Linked DNA regions of Homo sapiens: regions 1 and 2 are each linked to region 3. Evidence: promoter capture Hi-C in 16 types of primary human blood cells and fetal thymus (Javierre and others, 2016). All regions are on one chromosome and are shown on one strand. The core of a region is centred on a gene start or on the middle of the fragment in contact, and the rest is flanking DNA. Distances in the headings are between cores, read along the strand shown. Region 1 has its middle 7.3 kb from the start of OR13G1. Region 2 has its middle 11 kb from the start of OR6F1. Region 3 holds the start of TRIM58 (tripartite motif containing 58).

Region 1 (3,901 bases), core at 1,088-3,587, 170 kb after region 3:
TTCCTTCAGGAGCTCTTTTAGGGCAGGCCTGGTGGTGACAAAATCTCTCAGCATTTGCTTGTCTATAAAGTATTTTATTTCTCCTTCACTTATGAAGCTTAGTTTGGCTGGATATGAAATTCTGGGTTGAAAATTCTTTTCTTTAAGAATGTTGAATATTGGCCCCCACTCTCTTCTGGCTTGTAGGGTTTCTGCCGAGAGATCCGCTGTTAGTCTGATGGGCTTTCCTTTGAGGGTAACCCGACCTTTCTCTCTGGCTGCCCTTAACATTTTTTCCTTCATTTCAACTTTGGTGAATCTGACAATTATGTGTCTTGCAGTTGCTCTTCTCGAGGAGTATCTTTGTGGCGTTCTCTGTATTTCCTGAATCTGAACGTTGGCCTGCCTTGCTAGATTGGGGAAGTTCTCCTGGATAATATCCTGCAGAGTGTTTTCCAACTTGGTTCCATTCTCCACATCACTTTCAGGTACACCAATCAGACGTAGATTTGGTCTTTTCACATAGTCCCATATTTCTTGGAGGCTTTGCTCATTTCTTTTTATTCTTTTTTCTCTAACCTTCCCTTCTCGCTTCATTTCATTCATTTCATCTTCCATTGCTGATACCCTTTCTTCCAGTTGATCGCATCGGCTCCTGAGGCTTCTGCATTCTTCACGTAGTTCTCGAGCCTTGGTTTTCAGCTCCATCAGCTCCTTTAAGCACTTCTCTGTATTGGTTATTCTAGTTATACATTCTTCTAAATTTTTTTCAAAGTTTTCAACTTCTTTGCCTTTGGTTTGAATGTCCTCCCGTAGCTCAGAGTAATTTGATCGTCTGAAGCCTTCTTCTCTCAGCTCGTCAAAATCATTCTCCATCCAGCTTTGTTCTGTTGCTAGTGAGGAACTGCGTTCCTTTGGAGGAGGAGAGGCGCTCTGCATTTTAGAGTTTCCAGTTTTTCTGTTCTGTTTTTTCCCCATCTTTGTGGTTTTATCTACTTTTGGTCTTTGATGATGGTGATGTACAGATGGGTTTTCGGTGTAGATGTCCTTTCTGGTTGTTAGTTTTCCTTCTAACAGACAGGACCCTCAGCTGCAGGTCTGTTGGAATACCCTGCCGTGTGAGGTGTCAGTGTGCCCCTGCTGGGGGGTGCCTCCCAGTTAGGCTGCTCGGGGGTCAGGGGTCAGGGACCCACTTGAGGAGGCAGTCTGCCCGTTCTCAGATCTCCAGCTGCGTGCTGGGAGAACCACTGCTCTCTTCAAAGCTGTCAGACAGGGACACTTAAGTCTGCAGAGGTTACTGCTGTCTTTTTGTTTGTCTGTGCCCTGCCCCCAGAGGTGGAGCCTACAGAGGCAGGCAGGCCTCCTTGAGCTGTGGTGGGCTCCACCCAGTTCGAGCTTCCCGGCTGCTTTGTTTACCTAAGCAAGCCTGGGCAATGGCGGGCGCCCCTCCCCCAGCCTCGTTGCCGCCTTGCAGTTTGATCTCAGACTGCTGTGCTAGCAATCAGCGAGATTCCGTGGGCGTAGGACCCTCTGAGCCAGGTGTGGGATATAGTCTCGTGGTGCGCCGTTTCTTAAGCCAGTCTGAAAAGCGCAATATTCGGGTGGGAGTGACCCGATTTTCCAGGTACGTCCGTCACCCCTTTCTTTGACTCGGAAAGGGAACTCCCTGACCCCTTGCACTTCCCAGGTGAGGCAATGCCTCGCCCTGCTTCGGCTTGCGCACGGTGCGCACACACACTGGCCTGCGCCCACTGTCTGGCACTCCCTATTGAGATGAACCCGGTACCTCAGATGGAAATGCAGAAATCACCCGTCTTCTGCGTCGCTCACGCTGGGAGCTGTAGACCGGAGCTGTTCCTATTCGGCCATCTTGGCTCCTCCTCGATCTTTCTTTTCATTTTTTAACTTTTGCAGTATCTTTATCAAAGTATAACTGTAACTGTACATATTTATAGGGTTCATATTGGCACTGTGATACATGCATACAATGTGTGATTATCAAATCAGGGTAATTAGAATATCCATCACCTCAAAGATTGATCATTTCCCTTGTTGGAAACATTTAAATCTTCACTTCTAGCTATTTTGAAATATACAATTAATTTTTGCTAACTACAGTCACCATACTGTGCTACAAACAGTAGAATATATTCTATCTAACTGTATTTTTGTACCCAGTAAGCAACTTCTCTTCACCTCTCCTCCCTTCCCACCTTCTGGTAAAATATTAATATTATCAGATCTGCAAATATTAGTACATATAAAGAAATAGATAAACTGCCATATAATAAGAGCAGGGGACTTCTCTACTCCCTTTTAACAATGGATACATTATCCACCAAGAAAATCAATAAGAAAACATTGGACATGAACTACAATTTAGATTAAATTATAACACACTTATACAGAATGTATATTATGTATTCAATAGCAGAAGAATACACATTATTCTCAAGCACACATGAAACCCTTTACAGGACATATCATGTGTTTAGCCACAACACAAGCCTTAGCATTTTAAAAGACTGAAATACTATCAAGCATTTCTCATGAGTACACAATATAAAACTAGAAATCAGGAAGAGAATAAATATCAGAAAATTCACAAATATATGGAAATTCAACACCATGTTTTGAAACAACCAGCGGTTCAAATAGAAAATAAAAGGGATATTAAAAATATCTTGAGACAAACAAAATGAGTATACAAGATACCAAAATGTATGGGATTTAAAAATGCAGTAATAAGACAAAAGTTTATAGCAAAAAAAAAGCCTACATCTAAAAAGAAAGAGGCTCCCAAATAAAAAAAGACATAAAATTACACTTCAAAGAACTGGAAAAAATAACACATTAGGCCTAGAGTTAGAGAAAAAAAAGAGAGAGAGAGAGAGAAATAAGATTCAGAGCAGATTTAAATAAAAGAGACAAAAAATGGAAAAGAGCAACAAAATTAAGAGTTATTGTTTTTAAAAGATAAACAAATTGACAAACAGCCTCATGAAAGACTCAAATAAAATAGAAATAAAAATGAGACATAGAAATAGAAATGAGACATTACTACTGATACCAGAGAAATACAGAGGACATAAGAGACACTTACGAACAAGAAAACACCAACAAATTGGATAAGCTAGGAGAAATGAAGAAATTCCTAGATACGTAAAATCTACCAGAACTAAACTGCACTCTAGACCAAATGGACCTAGCAGATGTTTACAGAACATTCCATCCAACAGCTGCAGAATACACATGCTTCTCAATTGCACATGGAACATTCCCTAGAATAGATCATACATCAAGCCACGTAACAAGTCTTAACAGATTTAACAAGATTAAAATTTATAGTGTATTTTATTATATAAAACTATGAATCAACAAGAGGAGGAACTTTGGAAAGTTTACTAATACATGGAAACTGAACAAAATGCTTCTGAACAACCAATCGGTAAATGATGAAATTAAAAGGCAAATTAAAAACATTTTTGAGACAAATAAAAAAATACAACATATCAAAATCTTGGGATGTAGGAAAATCAGTTCTCAAAATTCAATTTATGCCAATAAACACCTGCATCAAAAAAGTAAGATCTTAAGTAAACAACCTAATATTGCACCACAAGTAAATAGAAAAATAAGAACAAACTTCATTGAAAATTATTAAAAGAAAAGAAACAATAAAGGTTAGGGCAGAAATAAGCAAAATAGAGACAAAACGTTACAAAAGAGCAATGAAAAAAATAATTTTTTTGAAAAAATAGACAAAATAACTTAGAAACAAAAGACAAGACTCAATAAAATAAAAGATTAAAAAAGACCTTACACAACTGATGCCACAGAAATATGAAGGATCATAAAATACTGTCATTAACTATTATAAGTCAACTAATTGGAACACCTACAGGAAATGAACAAATTATTA
Region 2 (4,119 bases), core at 972-3,471, 150 kb after region 3:
TCATGTGGGTGGGTTACTGTGGCCCATTTATCCAGTGACCTGAAAGGCTGCCAGTTTTGAGTGGGGTCCAGAACAGGAGAAGGCTCTGCAACAGGTCCAGGCTGCTGTGCCAGCTGCTCTGCCACTTGGGCCGTATGACCCAGCAGATCCAATAGTGCTTGAGGTGTCAGTGGCAGATAGTGATGCTGTTTGGGAGCCTTTGGCAGGCCTCCATAGGTGAATCACAGTGGACGCCTCTAGGATTTTGGAGCAAGGCCCTGCCATCTTCTGCAGATAACTACTCTCCTTTTGAGAGACAGCTCTTGGCCTGTTACTGGGCTTTGGTGGAAACTGAAAAATTGACTATAAGTCATCAAGTCAACATGCGACCTGAACTGCCTATCATGAACTGGGTGCTTTCTGACCCATCCAGCCATAAAGTGGGTTGTGCACAGCAGCATTCCATCATCAACTGGAAGTAGTATATATGGGATCAGGCTCCAGCAGATCCTGAAGGCACAAGTTACATGAGGAAATGGCTCAAATGCCCATAGTCTCCACTCCTGCCACCTGCCTTCTCTCCCCAAAGCCTGCACCGATGGCCTCATCAGGAGTTCCCTATGATAAGCTGACAGAGGAAGAGAGGACTAGGGCCTGGTTTACCGATGGTTCTGCATGATATGTAGGCACCACCAGAAAGTGGACAGCTGCAGCACTACAGCTCCTTTCTAGGACATCCCTGAAGGACAGCGGTGAAAGGAAATCTTCCCAGTGGGCAGAACTTCAAGCAGTGCACCTGGTTGTGCACCTTGCATGGAAGGAGAAATGGCCAGATGTGTGATTATGTACTGATTCATGGGCTGTAGCCAATGGTATGGCTGGATGATCAGGGACTTGGAAGAAGCATGATTGGAAAATTGGTGACAAAGAAATCTGGGGAGGAGGCATGTGGGTGGACCTCTCTGAGTGGACAAAAACTGTGAAGATATTTGTACCCCATGTAAGTTCTCAGCAATGGTTGACCTCAGCAGAGGAAGATTTTAATAATAAAGTGGACAGAATGACCCATTCCATGGACACCACACAGCCTCTTTCCCCAGCCACCTCTGTCATCGCCCACGTCTTTGGCCCATGGACAAAGTGGCCATGGTGGCAGGGATGGAGGTTACACATGGGCTCAGCAACATGGACTTCCACTCACCAAGGCTGACCTTGTTACGGCCACTGCTGAGTGCCCAACTTGCTAGCAGCAGAGACCATCACTGAGACCTCGATATGGCACCATTCCTCAGGGTGATCAGCCAGCTACCCAGTGGCAGGTTGATTATATTGGACCTCTTCCATCTTGGAAAGGGCAGAGATTTGTGCTCACTGGAATAGACGCTTACTCTGGATGGGAGTTTGCCTATCCTTCATGCAAGGCTTCTGCCAAGACTACCTTCCATCAACTCATAGAATGTATTATCCACTGTCATGGTATTCCACATAGCGTTGCCTCTGACCAAGGCACTCACTTTATGGCTGAAGAAGTGCAGCAGTGGCTCATGTTCATGGAATTCACTGGTCTTACCATGTTCCCCATCATCCTGAAGCAGCTGGATTGATAGAATGGGGGAATGGCCTTTTCAAGTCACAATTGCAATGCCAACTAGGTGACAGTACTTTGCACGGCTGGGGCAAAGTTCTTCAGAAGGCCATGTATGCTCTGAATCAGCGTCCAATATATGGTACTGTTTCTCCCATAGCCAGGATTCACGGATCCAGGATTCAGTGGGTGGAAATGGAAGTGGCACCACCCACCATCACTCCTAGTGATCCAGTAGCAAAATTTTTGCTTCCTGTTCCCACAATATTACGTTCTTCTTGTCTAGAGGTCTTTGTTCCAGAGGGAGGAATGCTGCCACCAGGAGACACAACAATGATCCTATTAAACTGGAAGTTAAGATTGCCACTTGGACACTTTGGGCTCCTCCTATCTTTAAGTCAACAGGCTAAGAAGGAAGTTACCGTGTTGGCTGGGGTGATTGGCCCAGGCTATCAAGATGAAATCAGTCTACTACTCCACAACGGAGGTGAAGAAGAGTATGCATGAAAACCAGGAGATCCATGAGGGCATCTCTTAGTATTACCATGCCCTGTGATTAATGTCAATGGGAAACTACAACAGCCCAATCCAGGCAGGACTACAAATGGCCCAGACCCTTCAGGAATGAAAGTTTGGGTCACTCCATCAGGAAAATAACCACGATGTGTTGAGGTGCTTGCTGAGGGCAAAGGGAATACAGAATGGGTAATAGAAGAAGGTAGTCATCAGTACCAACTGTGACCACATGACCAGCTGCAGAAATGGGGACTGTAATTGTCATGAGTATGTCTTCCTTCTTTTGTTAAAAACATGTTTGTGCATGTATACACTTGTATTGAGAAAATATCTGTATTTTATTTCTTTTTTCCTTTATCATGTGACATAAAATTTATTGACTTCATATCAGCATTTAAATATTGTTAACTTTATGTAATAGTATTTGAGTTGGGGATTGGTGTGTTTCCAGTTGTATGAGGGATAGTTGTATTATGTTAGGCATAATTATGACCTTATTATTGTCTTTATTTGAAGATTAGGTATGATTTCAGGAGATGTGTATGGGTTCAAGTTGACAAAGGGTGGACTTGTGATGGTTAATACTGAGCAACAATTTGATTGGATTGAAGGATACAAGGTATTGCTCCTGGGTGTGTCTGTGAGGGTGTTGCCAAAAGAGATTAACATTTGAGTCAGTGGGCTGGGGACGGCAGATCCACCCTTAATGTAGTGGACACAATCTAATCAGCTGCCAGGGAATATAAAGCAGGCAGAAAAACATGAAAAGGAAAGATCTAGCCTCCCAGCCTACATCTTTCTCCTGGGCTGGATGCTTCCTGCCCTCCAACATAGGACTCCAAGTTCTTCAGTTTTGGGACTCGGACTGGTTCTCCGTGCTCTTCAGCTTGCAGACACCCGATTGTGGAACTTTGTGATCACGTAAGTTAATACTTAGTAAACTCTCCATACATGTATATATATGTTAATATATATCCTATTAGTTCTGTCTCTCTAGAGAACCCTAATACAGTACTCATAAAAAACACTGCGTACCTGATCTGTTCCCTTCATTTATTCATTCTGAGGATTAGTTTCAGATCCATGGCATTCCTAAACATATTCTTGGAGATTTCTAAAAATCAAAATTCCTAATAAAAATCAGATTGCTACCCTCTGAGGATGAATAGCCTTCCTGTTTCCATAGGTTAGGCCTCAATTTCCAAAACCTCCAAAAGCAGCACCTACTATCTATCTCAACAAGAGTTATCTTCAACACCTCTCTACTTCTGCTACTCACCTCAGTACTGAAAAGAAGAATGTAGTCTTCAGCTTTTCAAGTGAATGAATCATTTTGATATGGAATTGTATCTAAAACTTAATGTTAAGTGAAGGAGTATCGAAATGAACAGAATGCTTTCATTGACTCAGGTCTTTTCTTTCTATACTGATTTAAAAACACACCCCACTTAAGCATAATTTGCATAATTAATTTTCAAGCAAATATACTTGACTACTAGAATTCTGATTCACTTTTCTTTCTTCTTTCTTTAGCCTATAACTTACGATGATACATTTGTAGATAAAATACATATTATTCAGAATTATCTTCCAGTAATAAATTACTGGCAGTGGAAAAACAATAGATGCCCCATCAGGGAAAATAGAAGTTTGAAAAAAATAGGTTTAACCATAATAAATTGCCTTTGTACAACAAATACAGCACTGAAGGAATATAACAATCAATCTAAAAATTAAATCTATGCACACATAATTTTTGTACAATGGTGAGGGTAAAATTAAATTATATTTAGTCATTATATTCAAAACAGCAATTCCATTACTATCTACCAAAAAGAAAATAAATCATTACAATATATAAAGACACATGCACACGTATGTTCATTGCAACACTATTCACAATAGCAATGACATGGAATCAACCTAAATGTCCATCACAAATAGACCGGATAAAGAAAATGTGGTACATACACACCATGGAATACTATGCAGCTGTAAAAAAGAATGAGATCATGTCGTCTGCAGAAACATGGATGGAG
Region 3 (4,353 bases), core at 1-2,500:
GGGATTCAAGTGTGTTCAGAAAACATCCAAGAACTTTTGAAGGGCACCAGTAGGAAGAAATCGACACACAATTTCACAGATGCCACTCTGGGGACCAAATACTCCCATTTTGTTTTTCTTCTTTCTCTTTGAAGCTTCCCGGGCTACACCCCAAATGAAGCACCTCTTCATTGAGGATGTTCGAATCCTAAGTCCCCAAATCCCTGCTGATGGAGAGCCACCCGCTCCTACTTCAGGAGGCACGTGCACCTGAGCTTTGGAGGGGTCGGAACCCGTACCCAGCTCGACACTCTTCTTAACAACGCCCAAACCCGAGGGTTGCTTTGCTGACAACACTCATTTAATGTAAACACTGTGCAAAAGCAAAGCATTGCACAAATGAGAATTATTATGGCAAGTTTACGATATAGACGTACAATTGTTACCAAGAATGAACTGGACCACACAGCCCTCCCGACCAGAGCCCAGCTGAGGGACCAGACTATCCGCATCGGGAGAAACCAGCCCAGCGCGAGTTCGACGACAGGAGAGTGCTTGGGGGAGGGGCGGACGGTGTAAAATAATGGGTGTGTGTCGCAAAGGGGGTTACCACAGCCAAGGCAAAGAGACCCACACTGAGTGAGCCGCGTGGGCGGGGGGGACGGCGCGCGGTGGGGGGAGCGGCCGTGGGAGCCGCTCAGGAGACGGGTGGCCTCGGCGGCTCCGCTCCGGACTGTCGCCCGCTTCCCGGTCACCGCAGCGCCCGCAGCCCCCGCCGGGGGGCGCCTCACCTGGTAGCTGCCGGCGGCCTCCTGCAGCGGCGCCGTGCGGTGCGTCCTGTGCTCGGGGCCGGCGTCGCACACCCAGCACAGCGCCGCCTCGTCCTCCTCGCAGAAGCGGCTCAGGTCCTCGCCGTGCCGCGCGCATCGCCGCGCCCCGGGCCCCGCGCCCAACCCCAGCCGCCGCACGCTCTCCACCAGGCCCGCCAGCTGCCGGTTGGGGCGAAAGCCCGAGGGCCGGAAGGGGCCCCGGCACTGCGGACAGGCGTAGACGCCGCCCTGCGCGCCGTCCGACTTCTCGCAGAACTCGGAGATGCACCTGAGGCAGAAGCTGTGGCCGCAGTCCACGCTGACCGGCTCCTGCAGGAAATCCAGGCACACCGGGCACCGCGCATCCTCGCGCAGCCGCTCCCCGGGCGGCGCCCAGGCCATGACCCGCCTCCCGGAGGGCTGCGCTCCCGGCCGCCCGCACCGTCTCCCCTCGCGGTCTGCACAGGGGGAGGAGCCCACGCCCCAGGAAAGCAGGCGCCGACGGGTGGTGTCCGCTGGCTTCAGTTCAAGAGCTCAGACGAGCCACACCCGGTGAAAAGCCACCACTCAGGCGCTCCCTATGTCGGGGATAAAATTAACGTTGTGGTTCCCCGCCCCCGTCACACACACACCCAGGAAACTGGGCATTTCTAACTGGAATCCCTCCTCATATGCTATTTTCACTGGCAGTAGATCTGGAGAATTGCTAAATTCCCTCCTTCCTTCCATCTTTGTTTGTTTGTTTTTGTTTTTGTTTTTTTGAGAGGGAGTCTCGCTCTGTCGCCCAGGCTGGAGTGCGGTGGCGCGATCTCGGCTCACTGCAGCCTCCGCCTCCCGGGTTCAAGCGATTCTCCTGCCTCAGCCTCGCAAGCAGCAGGGATTACAGGCGCCCGCCACCATGCCCGGCTAATTTTTGTATTTTTAGTAGAGACGGGGTTTCACCATTTTGGTCAGCCTGGTCTTGAACTCGTGACCTCAGGTGATCTGCCCGCCTCGACCTCCCAGAGTGCTGGGATTACAGGCGCGAGCCACCGCGCCCAGCCTCCATCATCATTATATAGATTTAGTGCAGATTTCTGGGGTACCAGTGCAGTTTTGTTACATGGAGACACTGCATAAAGTCTAGGCTTTAGCGCAGGCATCGCTGTGATAGCGTAAATTGTTCTCATTAGGTGATCTCTCATCCCTCGCCCGCCTTCCACCCTCCGAGCCCCTTCCATTGTTACTGAGCTACTCCATGGTCCTCTCATGCCATAATCGTTTCTTAAAAGGCTTTCCCCCTTTATATGGCATAATCAATTTTTAAATGTTTTTTTCAAACTTCATTTTTTTCTCTTGCACTAATTACCTCTTGATAAAGAAATGAGACACCGCCTGACACGGGAAGATGCCTGCATAGGTGTGTGTAACTATAGGTTTACAGCCCAGCCAAAAATAATTCTAAATATTTAAATAAATATCTGGCCTAGTTCAATGAGGATCCTACAAGGAATACACACATGTTGTAGGATTGTTGCAAAGCCAGTCTTGGAGATGACAAAGCTATAGAGATACTCATCAGAGGAATAATTCAAGCTTAGCCTCTCAGTGGTGTACCTGTCAGATGGGGGAGGCTGAGACAGGAGCAAAATGATTTGACAGAGTATGTTACTTCATCCAGTGGAAGGCTGAATCAGGATAAAGTACATTAAAGTCTCTAATGTCGTCCAGAAAGTCGACAAGTCTGAGGCAGTGTCTGCATCTGTGCAAAATAACTTTAGTATGGTCGAGTTTGAAGTGATGGTGGGGTGTACCTGTGGCAAATCAATCTGTCCCTGAGCACACATTGTGTCTGTTTGTAGCCAGGAGTCTCAGACATTGCACCGGGTACTGAAAATACACATGTTAAGGAAAAGAGGTGGGACCCCATTTCTCCAGGAGCCTTAAGATCAACTAGAAGAGGTGGATATGAAATCATGCAAACATATAATTACAAACCAATAACTGCAAGGAAGGTCGCTCACCAGTCCTGCAGGAATATAACAGAGGACTCTGAATGAGGCTGCAGGGTCGGGGGCAGACACCTGAGGTCTCTGAGCAAACCTCTGATAGGTGAACACAAGCTGGCCAGCGGGAAGGGGGGCTCCGCAAGGCCGTGCCCCCAGAAGCCATGAAAGGTACAAGGTAAACTTCAGCAGGTGGGAGCAAGACATACCCAGATGACAGTGAGAAGCCAGGCAGGCTGGCAAGCTGGGCCAGAATATGGTGGCAGCAGATAAGGCTGCAGCAAGAGGCGGGGCCAGATGACTCAGGTCCTTGGGGATCCTCTGGGGTTTGTGGGTCTTCATTATAAGGACAAACTCTTGGGCTGGATCTCTGGCGACAGGCAGAGCAGAGGATCTTGAGGCCTAAAGGTTAAGTGCGCAATTAAAGCGAATAGATTCTTGGAGAACACACATGGATCTGTATTAGCAAAACACGAAAGATGTGGCATTAGAGAAAAAAGCTAAAGAGCAGAAGGCTTAGCAAAGAAAAACAGACTCTGGCTCCGGACTAAGGGCTGTGGCACTTGCTGAGAAGCTTGAGGCAAGCTGTGCCGCGTTTCTGCCCTGCATTTCTTCTGACGTGCAGTGAAGAGGTGTTAGTGTCATTCATATAAGGCCTTTCAGAGTATTAAACGAGCTAATAGATAGTAGACACTTAATATAGGTCCTGGCATGTTGGAAATACACACACACACACACACACACACACACACACACGTATATATATTGAGACAGGGTCTTGCTCTGCTGCCCAGGCTATAGTGTAGTGCCACAACCTGACTCACTGTAGCCTCTACCTTTCAGGCTCAAGTGATCTTCTCACCTCAGCCTCCCAAGTACCTGCGACTACAGGTGCCCGCCACCACGCCCAGCTAATTTTTGTATTTTTTGTAGAGACAGAGTTTCGCCCTGTTGCCCAGGCTGGTCTCAAACTCCTGGGTTCAAACAATCTCCCCACCTTGGCCTCCCAAAGTGCTGGGATTACAAGTGTGAGCCACCTCGCCCGGCCATGTAGCAAATATATTTAATTGAAGAAAAGGAAATGAAATAGTGAAGTGAATGGAAGGATGGTGAGTCAAAAGGTAAGCTACATTAGGAAGAGAGATTTTTTTCTATTTTGTTCACTGCTCTATCTATCCCCAGGACCTTGAAGAGTAACTGGCACAAATGGACACTCCACACATACTAACTGATTAAACAAGTTAATAAGTAAATGAACAGAATTAGGACAGTTTATCATAGGAGCTAATGAAAGAGGGAAGTTCAAAGATGATTATATTATGTCAAATGTCAAATCCATGTTTTTCTGCATTTTACATATATGATCTTGCCCTGGCTCTCCATAACTCTGGCAGATGCTGGAGCATTTTTCTATTTTGCAGGCATAACGAGACACAGTAAAACAATCCATTTACTCAAATATATGGGCCAGTTGATAACTAGGCTCACTTAAATTCAGATTTCCTAGTGCCTGTGATCCTAAGGAAAGGCCCCTGGCTTCTGACGTTGGGGGTCACTGTGGTTTTCAGTAGGGTGTGACG

The links. The method cuts DNA at HindIII sites, captures the fragments that hold promoters and counts their contacts. A CHiCAGO score of 5 or more calls a contact.
Region 1: a contact is called between a fragment that was not itself captured here and the fragment with the promoter of TRIM58 in region 3, in 1 of 17 cell types (megakaryocytes). The highest score is 11.0, in megakaryocytes.
Region 2: a contact is called between a fragment that was not itself captured here and the fragment with the promoter of TRIM58 in region 3, in 1 of 17 cell types (megakaryocytes). The highest score is 6.3, in megakaryocytes.

Annotation. Positions count from the first base shown.
Region 1 is chr1:247,685,135-247,689,035 of GRCh38, reverse strand. No RefSeq gene overlaps it. Among named protein-coding and RNA genes, the nearest start is that of OR13G1, 7.3 kb to the right of the region's middle. RefSeq lists an enhancer at 944-1,545. The HindIII fragment of the contact is 4,475 bases long and covers 100-3,901 here.
Region 2 is chr1:247,703,994-247,708,112 of GRCh38, reverse strand. No RefSeq gene overlaps it. Among named protein-coding and RNA genes, the nearest start is that of OR6F1, 11 kb to the left of the region's middle. The HindIII fragment of the contact is 5,591 bases long and covers 1-4,119 here.
Region 3 is chr1:247,854,084-247,858,436 of GRCh38, reverse strand. It overlaps TRIM58 (tripartite motif containing 58), which reads right to left and starts at 1,250. Exons shown (of 6, transcript NM_015431.4): 1 at 771-1,250. The coding sequence starts at 1,190. RefSeq lists a cis regulatory region at 2,773-3,337. The HindIII fragment of the contact is 2,229 bases long and covers 137-2,365 here.